Linked DNA regions of Homo sapiens: all the other regions are linked to region 1. Evidence: promoter capture Hi-C in 16 types of primary human blood cells and fetal thymus (Javierre and others, 2016). All regions are on one chromosome and are shown on one strand. Each heading gives the region's core, a stretch centred on a gene start or on the middle of the fragment in contact. The rest is flanking DNA. Distances are from core to core; before and after follow the strand shown. Region 1 holds the start of DST (dystonin). Region 2 overlaps PRIM2 (DNA primase subunit 2). Region 3 overlaps PRIM2 (DNA primase subunit 2). Region 4 has its middle 23 kb from the start of PRIM2. Region 5 overlaps DST (dystonin). Region 6 overlaps DST (dystonin). Region 7 has its middle 3.6 kb from the start of LINC03001.

Region 1 (2,597 bases), core at 61-2,560:
TGGCTAAGTTTTTTAAGGTCTGCAGCACTTTTAGGGTTTGCCTTTTCCCCTCTTGTACAACAGCTCCACTACACAAGAAATTTGCTAAAACCGTTCGCTGGGCACTAATATGAAATCACTTAAAAGGAAACATGCCACTTTCGGCTAGGGGACAGCATGTTCGTCATTCAGTGTCCTACTGGTTTCTTAACACGCATATAATTAATATTGGTACTCAGGAAAGAGAACTTCTTCTGACCTTGAGCGTGCGCGCTAAATAAATTACCTCAGAACGAAAGTGGTGCGATCTCAAAACAGCATCTGGGGAGAAAAGAGATAAATGAGACTTCATTTAACTCCTTGTTCTTCACCTACCGAGTGACTCATGACTTACCTGGGAGACCAGGGTTGGGAAAGCACATCGCAGACTCCTGGAATTCGGTGGGACATCCTGGGGGAGGGAGGAGGAGTCCTGGGGCCATCGGTCTCTACGTGATTTCTCCGCGAGAAGTTTGCATGAAAGTTCTGGGGGAGTTGGGGAGCCCCGAAGTTTCCATGCCTTACTTTCTTACCCCTACGCTCCAGCGAAGGATGCGTGAAGGCGAGGCTGGCGCAGCCCCGGACTACGCTCAAATTACCCTTAAGGCTTTAGCAAACTGACTAAAAATTTGAGTTCTTTCCTCCCCTCCCTGCCCTCGGCATCGCCGTGGTTATTCAAACCTGGGAGACTGGAGGGCGGAGGTGACGGCAAAAAGGGCAAGGGGCGTTAAAGAAACGCACTCAGCCTGGGGAGTGGGCAATGATGGGGCTAGGGGCAGCCGAGGAGAAGGGAGCGAGCCGCGCTTCACTCTCCAAATCGGCTTAATTGTTCCTGGTAGCCCGCAGAAACCCGTCGCGGCGTGTCTTACCTCGGCTTCTTGAACGACCCGAGAAGACCGATTTCATCGGATGCCTCCCTTTCTGGAGCTTGCGGTGCCAGCAGCAGAAGAAGACGATGGTGGCGATGGTGCCCAGCAGAAGCAACAAGAGGAAGAGGGCACATTGGATGCTGTAGGGTCTCAGCAAGACGAGGAAAGCCGCGGCGATCATGGTGCGGGCGAGGCGAGGGCGACTCGACGGCGGGGCTGGAGGGCGGCGGCACAGGCACCCGCGCTGGGCGCACGCCGGGACGGCGGGCACGGGTGAGCGCGGCTCAGCGCGTCATGCCTGGCGCTCGCGGCCCCGCGCCCAGCCCAATGGCTGCGCACCCCGCGCCAGCCGCGCTACGCGAGTGATCCAGGGCTGCGGGGAGCGCTTGCCATGACTCAGCAGACAGCGACGAGGCTGCGACTCGGCGGCTGGGATCCTCTCCCCTCCCTCCCCAGGCGCCCCCGCCCCCGTCCGTGCGCAGCCCCCGGGCGCAGCCCCGCCGGGGACGCGGCGAGTGGGGAGGAGCAGCGCCGCCGCCGCGGCCGCCCGGGCCCCGCGCATCGTCCTGCGGCCGCCGCCGACCTCAGCATCCCAGAAGCCGGGCGCACGTGGGTCGGGGCGGGGACGCGGCGCTCAGGCTGCAGCCGCGGCAGCCTGCGGGGGGCGGGAATGGGGCGCCGCGGCGGGGGCTCGGCTGATGACATCACGGCCAGGCTGCGGCAGCGCGGGCGCGCGGACATGGCTGCGGCGGTTTCGGCGGCGTCCGCGGGCTGCACCCGGGCCTGAGAGCCCAGCGCCCTCCCGCGGGGCCGCCCGCCAGTCCGCGCCGTCCGCGGGTGCATTGGCCGGGTGCCTCTAGCTTCCCGGACACCCGGAGCTTCCGCCTATCCAGCCTCCCTCGGCCAAATTGCTGCGGAGCCCGTCGTCAGGGGGCGCCAAGGAGCCAGGGGGAAAACCGAGAGGCGCTGACAGGAGCCTCCCGGCGGTGCTACCCTCCACCTCCCACCTCCCTGCGCCCCGCCCCGAGGTTGGGGCTTTGAAGAATGCAGCCGGGTGAGCTATTGCTTGTGGGGGTTTCCTCGCACTCTGAAGCGCGAGCGCCGGGAAGGGCCTTCCCTGGGAATTGGGATACTCCAGGAACGGGAGGCCCACTCCTCTCCAAGCCTCTCTAAACTAGGAGCGCTCCGGGGTAGTACGCTCTGGTCGGCAGAGGTGAACTCTTCCACCCCAAACTTGGTGCTTATCTCGCAGCTAAGAATTGGGCACTTTCGATCTTCTTGTATCCCTGGGTTTGCCCTAAAACCCTGACTCATTTAGTGCATTTGAAGGGCAAGGCGATTTCAGATTTAGGGACCTGGCAGATGAAGTAAGTTGGTACTTGGCTTATAAACATTTGGGGGAGAAATTTTTTAGGGAGTGTGAGGCAATAGTGATCTCTCACACTTGCAGGCACACTCTGTCTCCCCTTTGTCCCCTCCCCACGTTTCTTCATAACCAGCAAAAAGTATATGGCAGTTGGTGGCCAGGGGATTTAACACTGATGCAATGCCAGCACGGAAGGTATAGCGAGAGCGCTGCAGTGTGCCTTTCTGCGGACGGCCACGGCCACCTGGCCAGGAAGCGGCTGCTGCAGCAGTCATTCTGCGGCATCTTGCGGCCTTGGCGGGCGGTGCTGTGCCGCGTTCTGCTGCCCCCAAGGCAATGCTGGC
Region 2 (2,597 bases), core at 30-2,529, 450 kb after region 1:
AAAGGAATAAAGAATGGCTACTTTATAGGCTGAGCAGCCTCCACTGTTATTTTTTAGCACTTTGCCTAAGGAATTTATTTATCCTTCAAATACGTATCATTTGCATATTGCGGGTTAGGCCTGAGGCGGTACACAGTGGCACACCCACATGGGGTGAAGAGCAGGGAGAAAAAGAGAATTTGAAACTGTGTATTTTCTCCTTCAATTTCATGTGGCATTAAATCATTCTTTTGAGGTCAAGAGCCTCTGAACTGATTAGTTAAAGAATTGGCTTGCTGGATGATGATGGTGGTGGTAGTGGTGGTGAAGGCAGGTTTCTAATTTTTTAATAAGCACATACTGTGTACCAGACACAATTAGATGTATTATATGTGTTCTCAATTTAACCCTGTTGGCAACGTTATGAGATGGTTATTTGCATGAATTTTGCAGAGAGGGAAACTTGGGAAGGTTGGGTAACTTATCCAAGGTCACAGAATTCTAAGCCAATGTACCTGTATCTGTAATTTTTATGCTCGTGATCTTTAATGATGTTACTCTCCCCCTTTGTGGGAAGCAGGCACAAATATTCCTTTTTTTTCCCCACTTTGGATACGTGTTGGTGAGCATAAATGTGCCAATCATTGTGATATGGCTTCGATGAGTGGAAGAACACCAGGGCTCTTGTCTCATGCCCAATTAGATAAGATGACATGGGTGCATGTGGAGTGGTTTTAAGGAGCGGAGAGTTTAATAGGCAAGACAGAAGGGAGAAGAAAGAAGCAAGAAGCGCCCCTTTACAGAGCCAGAGGGAGAGGGGGCTCCAAAGCTGAGAGAAGAGACCCCCAGTGTGGTGGAAACCTGCCAGGTATATGAAGAGGCTGGAGGAGACGGTGTCTGATTTGCATATGGCTCAGGTGATTGGTTTGACCAGGCATGTCATTCACATAGCCACCCACATAATAAATGCATAATAAATGCCATGAGAAAGTAGATTTGTTGGGGGAGTAAATTGACAAATCAGAAGATTTTATTGTGCTTTTGTACAATAAATAGCCTTTAGCATTTAATTTCCTCCCTCCACCCCTGGCCCTGGGCAAACACTCATCTGTTTCTGTCATGATAATTTTGTTTGTTTTAGAATTCCGTGTAAATTGAATCATACACTATGTATTCTTCTGCATTTGGCTTTTGTTGATCTGCATTGTGCTTTCGACATTCATCTATGTTGTTGTTGTTTTTAGAGGTAGGGTCTTACTCTGTCACCCAAACTGGAATGCTGTGGTGAAATCATAGCTCATTGCAACCTTGATCTCCTGGCTCATGGGACCTTCCTGCCTCAACCTCCCAAGTAGCTAGGATTATAGGTGCATACCAGTACACCTGGCTAATTTGTAAAATTTTTTGTAGAGACAGGGTCTCGCTGTGTTTCCCAGACTGGTCTCAAACTCCTCCCATCTCAGCCTCATCTATGTTGTTTCATGTATTGGTAATTCATTCTTCTATTCTTTTATTTTTTTAATTTAAAACATTTTTTCCATTCTTTTTAATTGTTAGGTAGTATTCCATTGTATGAATATACCACAATTTGTTTATCTAGTCCCCAATTCAAATGTCCACTTGATGGACATTTAGATTGTTTCCAGTTCTTGGCTATTATGAATAAAACTGCTGTGAATATTTGGATAAATACTTTTTTTTTTTTTCGAGATGGAGTCTCGCTCTGTCGCCCAGGCTGGAGTACACTAGCACGATCTTGGCTCACTGCAAGCTCTGCCTCTCGGGTTCACGCCATTCTTCTGCCTCGGCCTCCCAAGTAGCTGGGACTACAGGTGCCCACCACCGCACCGGCTAATTTTTTTGTATTTTTAGTAGAGGCAGGGTTTCACCGTGTTAGCCAGGATGGTCTCAATCTCCTGACCTCGTGATCGCCCTCCTTGGCCTCCCAAAGTGCTGGGATTACAGGTGTGAGCCACTGCTCCTGGCCTGGATAAATACTTTTAAGGAGGATTGCTGGGCTGACCAATAAATATGTTTAAAGTATGTTTAACTTTATGAGAAATTGCCAAACTATTTCCAAAGTGGATAGATATGTTCATCTCCAGTAGTGTATGTGTTCCAGTTATTCTACCACCTTGCCAAAAGTTGATATTGTCAGTTTTAAATTTTAATCATTCTAATGGATGTATGATGATATCTCATTGTGCTTTTAATTTCCATATCTTGAATATGTGTGTGTGTTGCAAATATTTTGTCCCAGTCTGTGGTTTGCCTTTTGTTTTAACAATGTCTTTTGAAGAGCAACAAAGTTTTACAATTTGATTCAGTCTATTTTATCAGTTTCTTTCTTTTATGGTTTACTTTTATTAAGAAGTATTCAACTGACCCAAGAGCATGAAGAATTTTTCCTGTATTATCTTTTTGAAATTTTATAGTTTTAGCTCTTGTATTTAACTCTATGACCCATGTTTTGGTTAGGTTTTAGACATGTTGATTTTTTTTTCCTTGTTGGTTTCCTTGTTGGTTTTGGCACTATTAGTAGAAAAGACTGGGCCGGGCCAGTGGCTCACGCCTGTAATCCCAGCACTTTGGGAGCCCCAGGTGGGTGGATCACATGA
Region 3 (2,597 bases), core at 29-2,528, 370 kb after region 1:
AAATAAAAAAGTAGAAGTTGCAATAGGTGAAAGACATTGTCCTGTCTGACAAGTAGAAGACATATCCACTGTAGCAAGGAACACTATGGAGTATATGAGTTAGGGAAAAGAGACTGTGAAGGGAAGTGAACAAACATTTTGTAGACGTTTAGTGTCAAATATATGCTAGGTAGGCAGTTTCTATAGTTTCTTTCATTTACTTCATGAGGTTTCTAAGTCACATCTACCTTTGCATAGACAGATGTCATGCATGGTACCATCTGAACCAAACCCACTGCATCTTCCACTTTGCTTTTAACTTTGATCCTTGGTGAAGTCCATTATTGCAATTATCAATTACAGTTAATTTATCCATTCCTATTAGAAATAGTTTATTTTTTGCTTTTGTTGAAATTACTGATTTTTAGTAGGTCATAGAGAGAGGTGTCCTTGAGAAGGTCTATTATTTATTCTAGGGCAGCCATCTCCAACCTTTTTGGCACCAGGGACTGGTTTCATGGAAGACAATTTTTCCACGGACTGAGGTCGGGGGATGGGGAGGGGTGTGGATGGTTTTGGGATGAACAGATCCACCTCAGATCATCAGTCATTAGATTATCATAAGGAGTGCACATCTTAGATCTCTCACATGTGCAGTTCATAATAGGGTTCGCACTCCTATAAGAATCTAATGCCTCCACTAATCTGACAGGAAGTGGAGTTCAGGTGGTAATGCTCGCTCACTGCTCACCTCCTGTGCAGCCTGGTTCCTAATGGGCCATGTGCTGGTGCTGGTATTGTGGCCTGAGAGTTGGAGACCCCAGTTGTAGAGTGTCTCAGCGTCACATATACTTTTTTAAATAATAGATTTATTGAGCTAGAATTCACAAATCTTGACATGCACCCTTTTACAATGTATAATTCATTGGTTTTTAGTGTAATTACAGATTGTGCAATCAACACTACTATGTAATTTTAGAACATTTTCACCTAAAAATGAAACCTCTTACCCATTTATGGTCATTCCCTATTCTTCCTCTCCCAACCCTTGGCAACCACTAACCTGCTTTCTGTCTCTGGATTTGTCTATTCTGAACATTTCATATAAATGGAGTCATACAATATGTGGTCCCTTGTGGTTGACTTCTTTTACTTAGCATAATATTTTCAAGTTTCATCTGTGCTGTAGAATGTATCAGTATTAATTTTTTAATTGCCAAATAATATTTTACCTGTTCAGCATTCGAGGGACATTTGGATGGTTTCCATATTTTGGCTATTATGAATAACGCTACAGTGAATATTTGTGTCCAGGTTTTTGTGTGAATATGTTTTCCTTTCTCTCAGGTGTATACCTAGGAGTAGAATTGCTAGGTCATAGGGTGATTCTGTGTTTAAACTTTTGAGGAGCTATCAAAATGTTTTCCAAAGTGGCTGTATCATTATATATCTTACCAGCAGTGGATGAGGGTTCCACTTTCTCCATATCCTCACCAAAAATTGTTACCTTTTAAAAAAATATAGCCATCATAGTGAGTATGAAGTGGTATGTAATTGTGGTTTTGATTTGCATTTCTAATGAAGCTGAATATCTTTTCATATGCTTATTGGTCATTTGTATATCATCTGTGAAGAGATGTCTGTTCAAATCCTTTGCCTGTTTTGTAGTTGAATTGTTTGGCTTTTTATTGTTGAGTGTTCTTTACATATTCTGGATACAAGTCCATTATCAGATATATGATTTACAAATATTTTCCCCCACTCTGAAGGTTGTCTTTTCTTGATGGTATTGTTTGCAACAAAAAGGTTTTTTTTTTTCAGATGAAGTCTAATTTATCTTTTTTTCTTGTCACTTGTGCTTTTGGTATTGAGTCTAAGAAGTCTTTGTCTAATGTGAGGTCATAAAGATTTACTCCTACAGTTTTTTCTGTAAGAGTTTTGTAGTTTTAGCTCTTACGTTTATATCTGTGGTTCATTTTGTGTTAATTTCTATACACGGTGTGAAGTAAGGGTCCAACTTCATTCTTTTGCATGTAGATATCTAGTTGTCCCAGCATCATTTGTTGAAATAACCATTCTTTCCTCATTGAATTGTCTTGGCACACTTGTCAAGTCAGTTGACTGTTGATATGGTTTGATTGTGTCCCCACCCAAATCTCATCTTGAATTGTAGTTCCCATAATCCCCACGTGTCATGGAAAGGACTTGGTGGGAGGTAACTGAATCATGGGGGCAATCTCCCCCATGGTAGTCTCATGATAATAAGTTCTCACTAGATCTGATGGTTTTATAAGGGGCCTCCCCCTTTGCTTGGTTCTCATTCCCTCCCCTGCCGCCCTGTGAAGAGGTGCCATCTGCCATGATTGTAAGTTTCCTGAGGCCTCCCCAGACACGCAGAGGGCTCAGGATTAAACCTCTTTCCTTTATAAATTACCCAGTCTCAGGCAGTTCTTTACAGCAGCGTGAGAACAGACTAATACAACTGTAAATGTAAACATTTATTTCAGTACTCTTAATTTTATTCCATTGATCTGTCTGCTTATCCTTATGTCAGTAGTATGTGGTCTTGATTATTGGTTACTGTGGCTTTATTGTTAAGATTTAAAATTGAGAAGTAT
Region 4 (2,597 bases), core at 98-2,597, 340 kb after region 1:
CATTCTCAGCAAACTATCAAAAGGACAGAAAACCTAACACTGCATGTTCCCAGTCATAGGTGGGAATTGGACAATGAGAACAAATGGACACAGGGTGGGGAATGTCACACACTGGGGCCTGTTGGGGGGTGGGGGTCTGGGGGAGGGATATGTAAATGACAAGCTGATGGGTGCAGCAAACCAACATGGCACATGTATACCTATTTAACAAACCTGCATGTTGTGCACATGCACCCTACAACTTAAAAGTATAATTTAAAAAAAAGAAAAAAGGTATTCCTTGCAATGTAGTTTGTGATAATGAAAATCTAGACATAGTTTAATGTCTTATAATTAGAAATTAGTTAAATATATTATGGTATAGTCATGCAATGGAATACTATGGAACTATAAAAAATGATGATGTAGTGCTGTATTTATTGATATTGCAGGAGGTCCACAATATGTCATGAAATGAACAAAAGTAGATTCCAAACACTTTATATAGGCCAGGCGTGGTGGCTCATGCCTGTATTCTCAGCACTTTGGGAGGCGTAGGTGGGTGGATCACATGAGGCCAGGAGTTTGAGACCAGCCTGGCCAACATGGTGAAACCCCATCTCTACTAAAAATACAAAAAATTAGCCGGGTGTGATGGTACACACCTGTAATCCCAGCTACTCAGAAGGTTAAGGCAGGAGAATCGCTTGAACCCAGGAGGTGGAGGTTGCAGTGAGCCGAGATCGTGCTACTGCACTCCAGCCTGGGCAACAGAGCGAGACTCCGTCTGCAAAAAAATAAGAAAACCCAAAACCAAACCAAAACAGAACAAAAGCAGTATATATAGTATGATTACAAGTGCATGTATATATTTATACATAAATTTATGTATAAGTATGTGTATATATGTATTTAAATAAGTATATGTATAAATATATACATATATAACATATGTGTATGTATATTTATTTAAGCACATATATAAATGTATACATACACATATAAATATACTTTAAGCATTTATGTATATTGATTGAAAAAAGTACATGGAGAAAAATACAAAAGTGTTCATGGTAGTTATTTTTAAGTGATATAATATTGCCATTTTTTACTCATTTTATGACTTTTTTTTTTTTTGAGACACAGTCTCACTCTGTCACCCAGTCTGGAGTGCAGTGGCACGATCTCAGCTCATTGCAACCTCCACCTCCCGGATTTCAAGCAGTTCTCCTGCCTCAGCCTCCCCAGTAGCTGGGACTACAGGCGTGCTGCCATGCCTAACTAATTTTTGTATTTTTAGCAGAGAAGGGGTTTCATCATGTTGGCCAGGCTTGTCTCCAACTTCTGACTTCAGCATCCCAAAATGCTGGAATTACAGGCGTTAGCCACCACGCCCAGCTGTACTTTGTAACATTTTTGATACCAACTTTATTTTTCATAATAAGGATATGTTACTTCTAGAATCAGAAGAAGAAACCTCTTTGTTTTAAAAAACTTCACCCAAAAAGTCATCCATTCAAGAGTTGTTTTTCTCCACCCCAGCTGACGTGACAAAATGCTGCCAACAATTTTGATGCCAATAATGACTTCTACATATTAAATACTTCTACATACTGACAAAAAATTATCTCTTAACAGCATGAATTGAATTTTATAAAAAAAAAAATTTGATTGGGAATATCTGCTCCAGTACTTAGAGGTTTAACTAGTAGCAAACCACTGGTTTATTTTGGAGTGAATCAATCTACATTGATTCTATGGAAAGAGTCCTAAATCTCTCTCCTGTCAAAGGAAATATTTGGCATGAAAAAAGGCAGCTTGTATATTTGCTTGACAGCATGTTGTGGTTTAATGAATTAGAACCATAATTTTTAGCTTTGTTCTTAAAAACAGACTGATTTTAGAGAAATAGAAATAAAATGTATGGAGGTGATAGAAAATACAAATTTCCCAGGTACTAAAGGAGGGCCTGTTTTACTCCTTGTTTTAAATCCCTCCTGAGTGCCAAATCTTAACTACCAATTGCCTGATGCTTATCTCCACATGAACAGCTACACAGGCACCTTAACTCATTTACAAAATTGAATGTGTCATCTTCTTCCTACAAATCTTCCATTTCTTCCTCAGTTCTACAACATATATCTAAGAGCAAAAACCATCCTTCCCAACACCCGGATTAAAATAACCTCTAAGTCTGGATGAAAAGAATGGAGGGATGGGAATAGGATAGAAGGGATGAGGGGGGAATGGCATTTTTGTGACTTTTATAACCATAGTCACAACCATTTTGTGACATTTATAACCATATCAATGTTTCATACATTCAATAAATAAAACCAACAGGATGGGTGGGGAGAGGGGACCTGAAATGGAATACTAACTATAACAAATGAACCTAACCATATTACGAATGAATAACAACCGCACTGAAGGGTGTGGAGAAGAAAAAGAACAAATCTCAATAACTCTGGAAAATAATATTTTCACTACATGCTGTATGGCTAAAAGACAAAAAGCTGTGCACAAATAGAAATGCACATGACTAAAACTGTATACAAAGAATTATATACAAATATTGTACTTTAGCTAGTAAGTTTATTTTTCACAGGGGTATGAAA
Region 5 (2,597 bases), core at 98-2,597, 340 kb before region 1:
TCTGAGTAATACAGAGCTTGCTTGTTATTGGGATTAGGGAAAACTCTTGTGTTGCTGGATGGCTCATGTAAAAACTGTAAGATGGCATTATTCAACAACCCCTGCTGCAGAGCAATTTCTGGAGGAACACGAATGCCTCTCACAGGGTCAATGACACCCCCACTGGCAATCTGGGCTTCCAAGATATGTTTACCTTTTTGTCTGTCAAGCATTCTATTTTCCATAGCTTGAAACACTGACAATGTCTTAGAAGAATAAGAATATCCCACAGCTGCCTTCTCTGCCTCAAGAAGCCTAATTCTGAATTCGGGGTCAACAACTCCTTTAAGAACTGCATCTTCAACAGAATATGTCTGACCTGAAATGGGATCAATTATAAAACCTGTTGCAGCCTGAGCTTCTAAAAATGCCAAAGCCACCATTTTGTCTATTATGATTCTCTCGGCCGCTGAGGCAAATGAAATCTTTTCTTTTGTAGATTCTAGGTAAAGCCCTGCAATTGAGGTGGCTTTCGTCAGAAACTTGTTAAGAGTTTTCTGAACTTCTTCAACAGTCTTAAGACCGAGTCGCAGCTGCTCAATTGTTCTCATGTCCAGAAGCTTAGCTTCCACCAACTGCCTGGCAGTCACAGTGTGCCTAAGCCCTTGGAATTTAAATTCATCATCCCTGACTGAACATGCATGATCACCATCAAAGTTCTGGAAGGTCTCTGGTTCTAAGCCCTTCTTAAGGAAATCCCCTTTCTTGAGTCCACCAGATGCTCTGCACCCTTCAAGCATCCATTCTTCAGCACTGGGAACTGGGTTCTTTTCTTGTTTTAATGTTGTGACTTCTGTATGCATATCATACTGCTTGTTCTTAGCTATCTGTAACAGGAATTTATAAAATGTTAAAAGTCACCTCAAGAACATTATGTCACTTTATCCATTCTCAATCCAAACATAATTCTTTGAATTACAAAGACAAGATTAGTGAAAAGAAGAAAAATTTCAAACCAAGGAGGGTTCAGGAATAAGTATTATATTATTTTCAGAGTCTGAATTTTATCTTAGATGACAATTAAAGGTATTAAAATTATATCTTTAAAAAAGACTAAGACAAAGTCTAGCCACAGAATATGTTAGAAGTTAAAGCTAACTGCTTGGTTCTTCTAGCTTTTTTGATACTCACATTTTTCAGAATGTATCTCCACAGATATAACAGTATATCTATTACATCTGTATGTTTAATCTCAAACATTCAAAAATTAAAGTTAATTTATGATAAAGATTCAAGTAAGTTACCAGAAAGAGTATAGCATTATTTTCCTGTCAGAACTACAATGAGCCAATCACATTCAAAATTGTTTTAAAAATTTAGTCTAGGAGAGAAAGGAAACAAATGAGGAAACTTGACATTAGGTAGCTGATAAGGTCTCAGAACACAGAGTATACCTCTAAGGGTGTCAAAACCTTCACCAGTTCCATTTCACATGCGTTATCTTGATACCTAACAGGTGGTCTAGAATTGTTCAGGGCTTGGTCTCTTATCTTCTCAATTTCAGACAGTCTTGTAATGGGGTTTGTCTCATCAAAAGTTATCTGTAACTCGGTGCTTGTCTGAGAAAAGTACTCAGAGTAACACTGCTGGCTTTTCTCTTTCTCGAGTGGAGCCCCTGGTGGCTGGAATTGGACTTCTTTGGGTATCTGTTCAACAACCCGATGCTGCCACTTCTCTTCCAATGGCTGTGGTTCTTGAGTCCATCTCAACAGAGGGGATCTGGGTGTTGGGTGAAGGTGTCCAGTGTTTCTAGAGGACAGCTCTCCAGAGTGCTGGCACTCCTTCACTGTCATCTCAAAATCTGGTTTGAAGGTACAGTCTTTGGCTGTGCTCTTTTTTTGAATTTCACACTGGAGCAAAACTAATTGATGTTCATGCTCTTTGATCTGTTGGTCCATTTTTTGCTTCAGGTTTTCAACCTCACGCTTCTGGGCTATCAGCTCATCCTCAAGTTTCTGACATTTTTGGTAATGATTTGCTTCCATGTGCTGCCCTTGCTGCATTTGTTCACGATACTGTTGAAGCTGTCTTTCAAGTTCTTTAATGTTTGTTTCACAAAGCTTAGCATTTTCTTGGGCTCTAGAGTTTTCTTGTTGAAGAGACACAAAGTCAAGCCTAATGCCTGAAATATCATTTTCAGTGATGACTTTGGACTCCATTAATTTTTCCATCTTCTTCCGAAACTCCTCTGCTGATTGTTTGAATTTACCAGATTCTTCCTGAAACAGAACCATCTTTCTGTGGGTCATCTGCTCCTCTATGGTCTTTAAGTGTAATTCGTCTTGTACTTTTTTCAACCTGTTATTTAACTCTTGCACCTGAGCTTGTTGTAGCTGAACTTTCTGCTCCCCGCGTCGCTTCTCTTCTTTGGAAGCATTCAGTTCCGCATTCAGATTTCTAACTTCTTTCTTGGTATTCTGGATGATAATGTTCTGTTGGTCACACTTTTGCTTAAATTCACTTACCAAATTTTGACTTTTCGCCAGGTCTTCTTCTAGGCATTTAATTTTTCTTTGAAAATCCTGCTCTGTTTTTGTCTGTTTATGCAAGTGTTCATT
Region 6 (2,597 bases), core at 55-2,554, 320 kb before region 1:
CTCAAACATGCTTTTACCGTTCCACCAATTGTGTCTACATATCATAGGCTGGGTGATACAATATACCTAAGATTGAGATTCCCATTGAGAGCAAAAAATAGCCAGAACTAAACACCTATGGGGAAAAAAAGACAGGGATCCCCATGCTTTACCTCTTTCTGCAGATTTAAGAAGTTCTTGATAATACTGCTTACATACATTAACCTCCTTTTCCAGTTGTGTTATATCTGAGCCTGAAAAGACTTGGGATTCCTGGCTATCTTCCAGAAAATCTTCAAAACGAGATTGTAGATTACTTAGAACTTGCTGATGTTCACCAGGTAGCATTGTCTTTATCTAAAGAAGACCAAAGACCCATGTAATTCATTCTATTACTCATAGATTTGAATGGGAGACACTTCAAACTGGTCGTGTGGTATATGCCAATCTAAACGAATAATCATAAATAGGAACATTTGAAATTAACTGTCTTTTTCATTAACAATTTTAGGTGGTTTTTTTTTGTTTTTTGTTTTGAGACGGAGTTTCACTCTTTTTTTTTTTGAGACGGAGTCTCGCTCTGTCGCCCAGGCTGGAGTGCAGTGGCGGGATCTCGGCTCACTGCAAGCTCCGCCTCCCGGGTTCACGCCATTCTCCTGCCTCAGCCTCCCAAGTAGCTGGGACTACAGGCGCCTGCCACTACGCCCGGCTAATTTTTTGTATTTTTAGTAGAGACGGGGTTTCACCGTTTTAGCCGGGATGGTCTCGATCTCCTGACCTCGTGATCCGCCCGCCTCGGCCTCCCAAAGTGCTGGGATTACAGGTGTGAGCCACCGCGCCCGGCCGAGACGGAGTTTCACTCTTATTGCCCAGGCTGGAGCGCGATCTCAGCTCACTGCAACCTCTGCCCCCCAGGTCCAAGCAATTCTCCTGCCTCAGCCTCCCGAGTAGCTAAGATTACAGGCATGCACCACCACACCTGGCTAGTTTTGTATTTTTAGTAGAGACAGGGTTTCTCCACGTTGGTCAGGCTGGTCTCGAACTCCAGACCTCTTAGGTGATCCACCTGCCTCGGCCTCCCAAAGTCCTGGGATTACAGGCGTGAGCCACCGCGCCCAGCCAACAATTTTAGGTTTTAACGACAAAGAAAAACAAGTCTACGAAACTCAAATGAAATCAACTGTACCCATCATCGTATATCCAACAACTACATTCTGCCTCCCTATCTCACAGTAAGTTCTGAATGAAATTTGTGATCTCCAGATTTCCTCAGTTCTTAAAAAGTGCCTTATATGCTATGGGCATATAACAAATATTCATTGAATAAATGAATATTAGCATGGATTTGCCGGACTCCATCCTATTCTAAAGCAAATACAAACTCTACGACACATATGAAAAGGCATGCACATTTTTGGACATATCGAGTTGACATACAGATTCATACTTACTGAAGCCACATTGCTAGCTCGAATTCTATCAATTTCATTGATGAGATAATGCCAGGATACTACACTCTTCATGTTTATGTGAGACTCATGCCAAAGAGTCAGGACATTCTGATACTGTTGCTCAATTCTGAAATACATGAAAGAGAACTCAGATTAATGTTTTTACTCCCTCTGAAAACACACTGCAATTTTTCTTTTTGTGTGAAATATTCCACGGATGAGTTCTAGAGACTTTTGATCCTGTGGGGCCTTGACAAAGTATTGATTGTTCCTTCAACCTTCAGAGGGCCCCCAAAACTAGCTCAACATTTTTAGCTAATATATACAAACCTGTTGGCAAGGTCCACCGCTTCTTTGTTTGGTGGAGGAACGGTGAAGCACACAGATGGGACCATAGCCTCATTCCCAGTAGGACTAATGACCTTCCATTTAGCACGATGAGAGTTATTCGCCAAAACACATTCATCGTCTTTGTAAATGGTTATCTGGTTTAAAATAAAGAGCAGAATAACTCAATGAGGTCACTGTTAACTGTTTTCCATACTCAATCCTGGGATTTTTTTTGTTTTATGAGGCGGGAAATCTTGATCACTAGTTAGCAATATGATCTCATTTACAAAATATATGAATAATGACAGAAACTGGTCTGTTTCTAGGAGTTACAAGTACCTCAATTTGTCTGTAGTCACAGATAGCTTTGATCGGAATAGAAGTTTTGAGTGGACAGTCAGAATTCCTTGGCTTCAGTTGAATTATTGTTTTTGCTTTTCCCATTAGGTTTGCTATAGTGCTTTTGTACTGCAGAAGTTCTTCTTTCTCTTCCTAAGTAATAAATACAGTGAATTTTAAGAAGTAAAAGACTTGTACTCTCCATGCCTTCAGCACTTTACACAAATTAAACTTCATCAGAAAAGTCTTCTCTCTGACTACCTAGTCTAAATTTTCAATCTTTCCTCCTCCACCCCATCTTGTATCCCTCTTCCTTTCTTTGGTTTGTTTGGTTTTCTTTTTCCTCTTTGGCATTTACACTACCTAACATACTATACAAATTTTACTTATTTATTCTGTTTATTGTCTAACTCCCTCTCTAGCATGTAAGCACCACAAAGGTAGAGATTCTTGTCTGCTTTGTTCACTGCTGTAGCTCTAGAACCTAAAACAGTGCCC
Region 7 (2,597 bases), core at 43-2,542, 310 kb after region 1:
TTTTTTTATAAAGAATTCTGTGCCTGACAACTCTAGACATATTTATTATGCAGCTTCTCTTAAAGGATTTTCAATTTGCTCATTTGGAGCAAATTTTGTGTGTTAAATGCAGTTGGTTCCTAGACACTGACTCATTTTCCAAATCTGAGTACACTTTTTCCTCAATTGACTTTCCCCTGCCAGTATGTCATCCAACTATTCTTTAATGTACTGTCAAAATATGGTCACCTCATCATTAACAGGAAATGGGCTTCTTGCCCAGTCTTATGAAAGTAGAATAAAATCAGACAGTTTGATTTTTAAACTATAAGAAAAGGAGAATGAAAAAACAGCAAAACTTAACTAATTTCCAAGCTCAGGGCTATTTATAAAGAGCTTGAACAAATAAGACACCCAGAAACGAAAGGAAAACTGCAATTTGCTTGGCTTTGTGTAGAATACAGAAGAATTTCCATTTTACTCTAAATATAAAGTAGCTGCAATGTGAGTCAACATAAATAAAACAAAGAAACCAAGTCTTTATGGAAGATGACAGCAGTTTCATGTGGGCAGCTTCATGTGTTTAAGCATCTCAATGTGAAAACTTGGCCATTTGCTCAAGATTGTTTCTCTGTATTTAGATTTTTGGTGCAAATATCATCTCTGTCTCTAGGAAACAAACCCAGACGGCCTACAGAGTCAAGAATGAAGAATTCATTTTACTGAAATGTTAATGTCAACTCTAAAAATATCAGAGTTTTCAATTTTACCTAATCAAATAATCAGCTCGACAATTTTTTTGCAACCACAGTTGCTTATAGGGCTGACCAAAGTGACGATTTGTTTAAGACCAAGTTCAAGGTTAGTTAAACATATAACATATAGCGCAGATTTCATTTAACCATGTGGATAATTCAGCCAAATATGTTTTTCATGAATTGCTGTGAAAAAGAGTAATTTGCCGCATTTGAATTATCTGATTACCTGTCCTGATCTTCTACTTCACTTTGAGTGTATATGTAGACTTTATTAGAATAACATTTTGTAGTGTAAAAATAGTCTATGTCGCCACAGCTTCTCTCTACTTGCTAGTTCAAAGCTTTCTCTTTAATTTTTGATCAGTGCCAATTTGGAACCGATCTCTTTTAGCTCAGTTTCCTCATTTGTGGAGTGGGTATCTTAACGTCCAAAATAATAAATGATTAAAAATAGTTAAAAAAAGTTAAAAATAAATGATTAGTGGAATGATGAAAAGTACTTCACACAGAATCCAGCATATAGTGAATGCTCAATGAATTTTAACTATTTTGACTTTTACTGTTAAAGATGTGACGTGGGAAGTCATTAAACCTTTTGTAGCTTAGTTCTTTAGGTATGAAAGACAAATGTCTTGATATAAGTCTAAAAATGTTCTTAAAATGCATGCAGTGCCTCCACATGCAAAGTGAAGCACAGAATTTAAGTAATTACCTTCATTAATTAATCAATGCATTGCTTTACCTAATAGGTTGATACATGTTTTAGAGCAAAGCTTGATGCACAAAGGTCCACTTTGCTTGGATATTAGTTTTATTGTCATTTTGCCATTTTTTTGGTATTCATTATCTACTGTGATGGGACAAGAATTTGGGTGAAAGTAGTTTACTTGGGAGGTGATCCCAGGAGGCATGATCAGGGAGTGGGCAAGTAAGACTGGCAAAAGAGGAACACCATTAAAGGATACATTGAGAAGCGGGTTACTGTCTTGGGCAAGTGAGCTCAATCCCAGTGGCATCTCTTTGAGAGGCTGCATAAAACCTTTGAGCAACCTCATCCATTTAGTCCAGCACTGTACTAATATTATCACTTTCTACGAGCAATACCACATGAAAAAATTTGGGGAGCATTGCTATAAAGAATGGTTGAGAGTGCTGAAGAGAAGCCAGGAAAATAAAAAGCAGAATAAATAAGAATGGTTGACATGCACGGTGGCTCACACTTGTAATTCCAGCACTTTGGGAGGCGGAGGCGGGAGGATCACTTGAGGCCAGGAGTTAAAGACCAGCCTGGGCAACATTGCGACACCCCATCTCTACAAAAAAATTTTAAAATTAGCTAGGCATGGTGGCACATGCTGGTCTCGAAAACCTGGCCTCAAATGACCCTCCCGCCTTGGCCTCCCAAAGTGCTGGGATTACAAGGGTGAGCCACCGTCCTGGCCTGGTTACATTTAACTATGTTGCAGAGAAGATCGTGGATTCATTCAAAATGAAATCATTGTTGCTGGGTTCTTGTAAAAGTAAGGTTGTTGAGCTATGGGCATTGAGCATATGAGAACAGAAACATAATCCTTTTAATCTACTCAGCATTTTGCAGGCTTCAGAGGAATAATGGCTGTTGTTTCTGGCTTTGCAGTTCAAGTGAGATGGATTTAGAAGAGCTCCAAGCACATTCCTAAAGTATTAGGTGGTTGGAAGGTTCTATGAGTTACGTAGTTGTTACTTCAGTCTCCAGCGGAAGGGAGGAGACATGTCTTCCTAGTCATATTCCTCCTTGGTCTCAAAAAACCACATTTTGTTCCCTTCAAGTCAGGAATGTAGCCAGAATGCCCACCAGGTGGTGCTCCAATTACTTTACTG

What was found. The method cuts DNA at HindIII sites, captures the fragments that hold promoters and counts their contacts. A CHiCAGO score of 5 or more calls a contact.
Region 2: a fragment that was not itself captured here is called in contact with the fragment with the promoter of DST in region 1 in 4 of 17 cell types (total B cells, total CD4 T cells, activated CD4 T cells and 1 more); the score reaches 6.4 in total B cells.
Region 3: a fragment that was not itself captured here is called in contact with the fragment with the promoter of DST in region 1 in 5 of 17 cell types (erythroblasts, megakaryocytes, naive CD4 T cells and 2 more); the score reaches 12.7 in erythroblasts.
Region 4: a fragment that was not itself captured here is called in contact with the fragment with the promoter of DST in region 1 in 1 of 17 cell types (erythroblasts); the score reaches 5.5 in erythroblasts.
Region 5: a fragment that was not itself captured here is called in contact with the fragment with the promoter of DST in region 1 in 1 of 17 cell types (endothelial precursors); the score reaches 5.5 in endothelial precursors.
Region 6: a fragment that was not itself captured here is called in contact with the fragment with the promoter of DST in region 1 in 1 of 17 cell types (endothelial precursors); the score reaches 5.6 in endothelial precursors.
Region 7: a contact is called between a fragment that was not itself captured here and the fragment with the promoter of DST in region 1, in 10 of 17 cell types (endothelial precursors, erythroblasts, total CD4 T cells and 7 more). The highest score is 10.2, in endothelial precursors.

Annotation. Positions count from the first base shown.
Region 1 is chr6:56,953,520-56,956,116 of GRCh38, forward strand. DST (dystonin) reads right to left here and starts at 1,311. Exons shown (of 104, transcript NM_001374736.1): 1 at 888-1,311; 2 at 266-300. The coding sequence starts at 1,068. It overlaps BEND6 (BEN domain containing 6), which reads left to right and starts at 1,588. Exons shown (of 7, transcript NM_152731.3): 1 at 1,588-1,941. RefSeq lists an enhancer at 294-925 and a silencer at 1,087-1,776. The HindIII fragment of the contact is 5,182 bases long and covers 1-2,597 here.
Region 2 is chr6:57,407,508-57,410,104 of GRCh38, forward strand. The region is part of intron 7 of PRIM2 (DNA primase subunit 2); the gene reads left to right. Among named protein-coding and RNA genes, the nearest start is that of MIR548U, 19 kb to the left of the region's middle. The HindIII fragment of the contact is 4,227 bases long and covers 1-2,597 here.
Region 3 is chr6:57,327,345-57,329,941 of GRCh38, forward strand. The region is part of intron 5 of PRIM2 (DNA primase subunit 2); the gene reads left to right. Among named protein-coding and RNA genes, the nearest start is that of PRIM2, 11 kb to the left of the region's middle. The HindIII fragment of the contact is 7,570 bases long and covers 1-2,597 here.
Region 4 is chr6:57,293,712-57,296,308 of GRCh38, forward strand. It overlaps a transcript of PRIM2 not described here. Among named protein-coding and RNA genes, the nearest start is that of PRIM2, 23 kb to the right of the region's middle. The HindIII fragment of the contact is 6,847 bases long and covers 1-2,597 here.
Region 5 is chr6:56,616,553-56,619,149 of GRCh38, forward strand. All of the region lies in intron 36 of DST (dystonin), which reads right to left. Among named protein-coding and RNA genes, the nearest start is that of DST-AS1, 230 kb to the right of the region's middle. The HindIII fragment of the contact is 1,500 bases long and covers 598-2,097 here.
Region 6 is chr6:56,632,702-56,635,298 of GRCh38, forward strand. DST (dystonin) reads right to left here. Exons shown (of 104, transcript NM_001374736.1): 25 at 2,100-2,252; 26 at 1,761-1,915; 27 at 1,431-1,557; 28 at 153-336. Among named protein-coding and RNA genes, the nearest start is that of DST-AS1, 210 kb to the right of the region's middle. The HindIII fragment of the contact is 3,833 bases long and covers 1-2,597 here.
Region 7 is chr6:57,265,692-57,268,288 of GRCh38, forward strand. It overlaps a transcript of PRIM2 not described here. Among named protein-coding and RNA genes, the nearest start is that of LINC03001, 3.6 kb to the left of the region's middle. The HindIII fragment of the contact is 432 bases long and covers 1,077-1,508 here.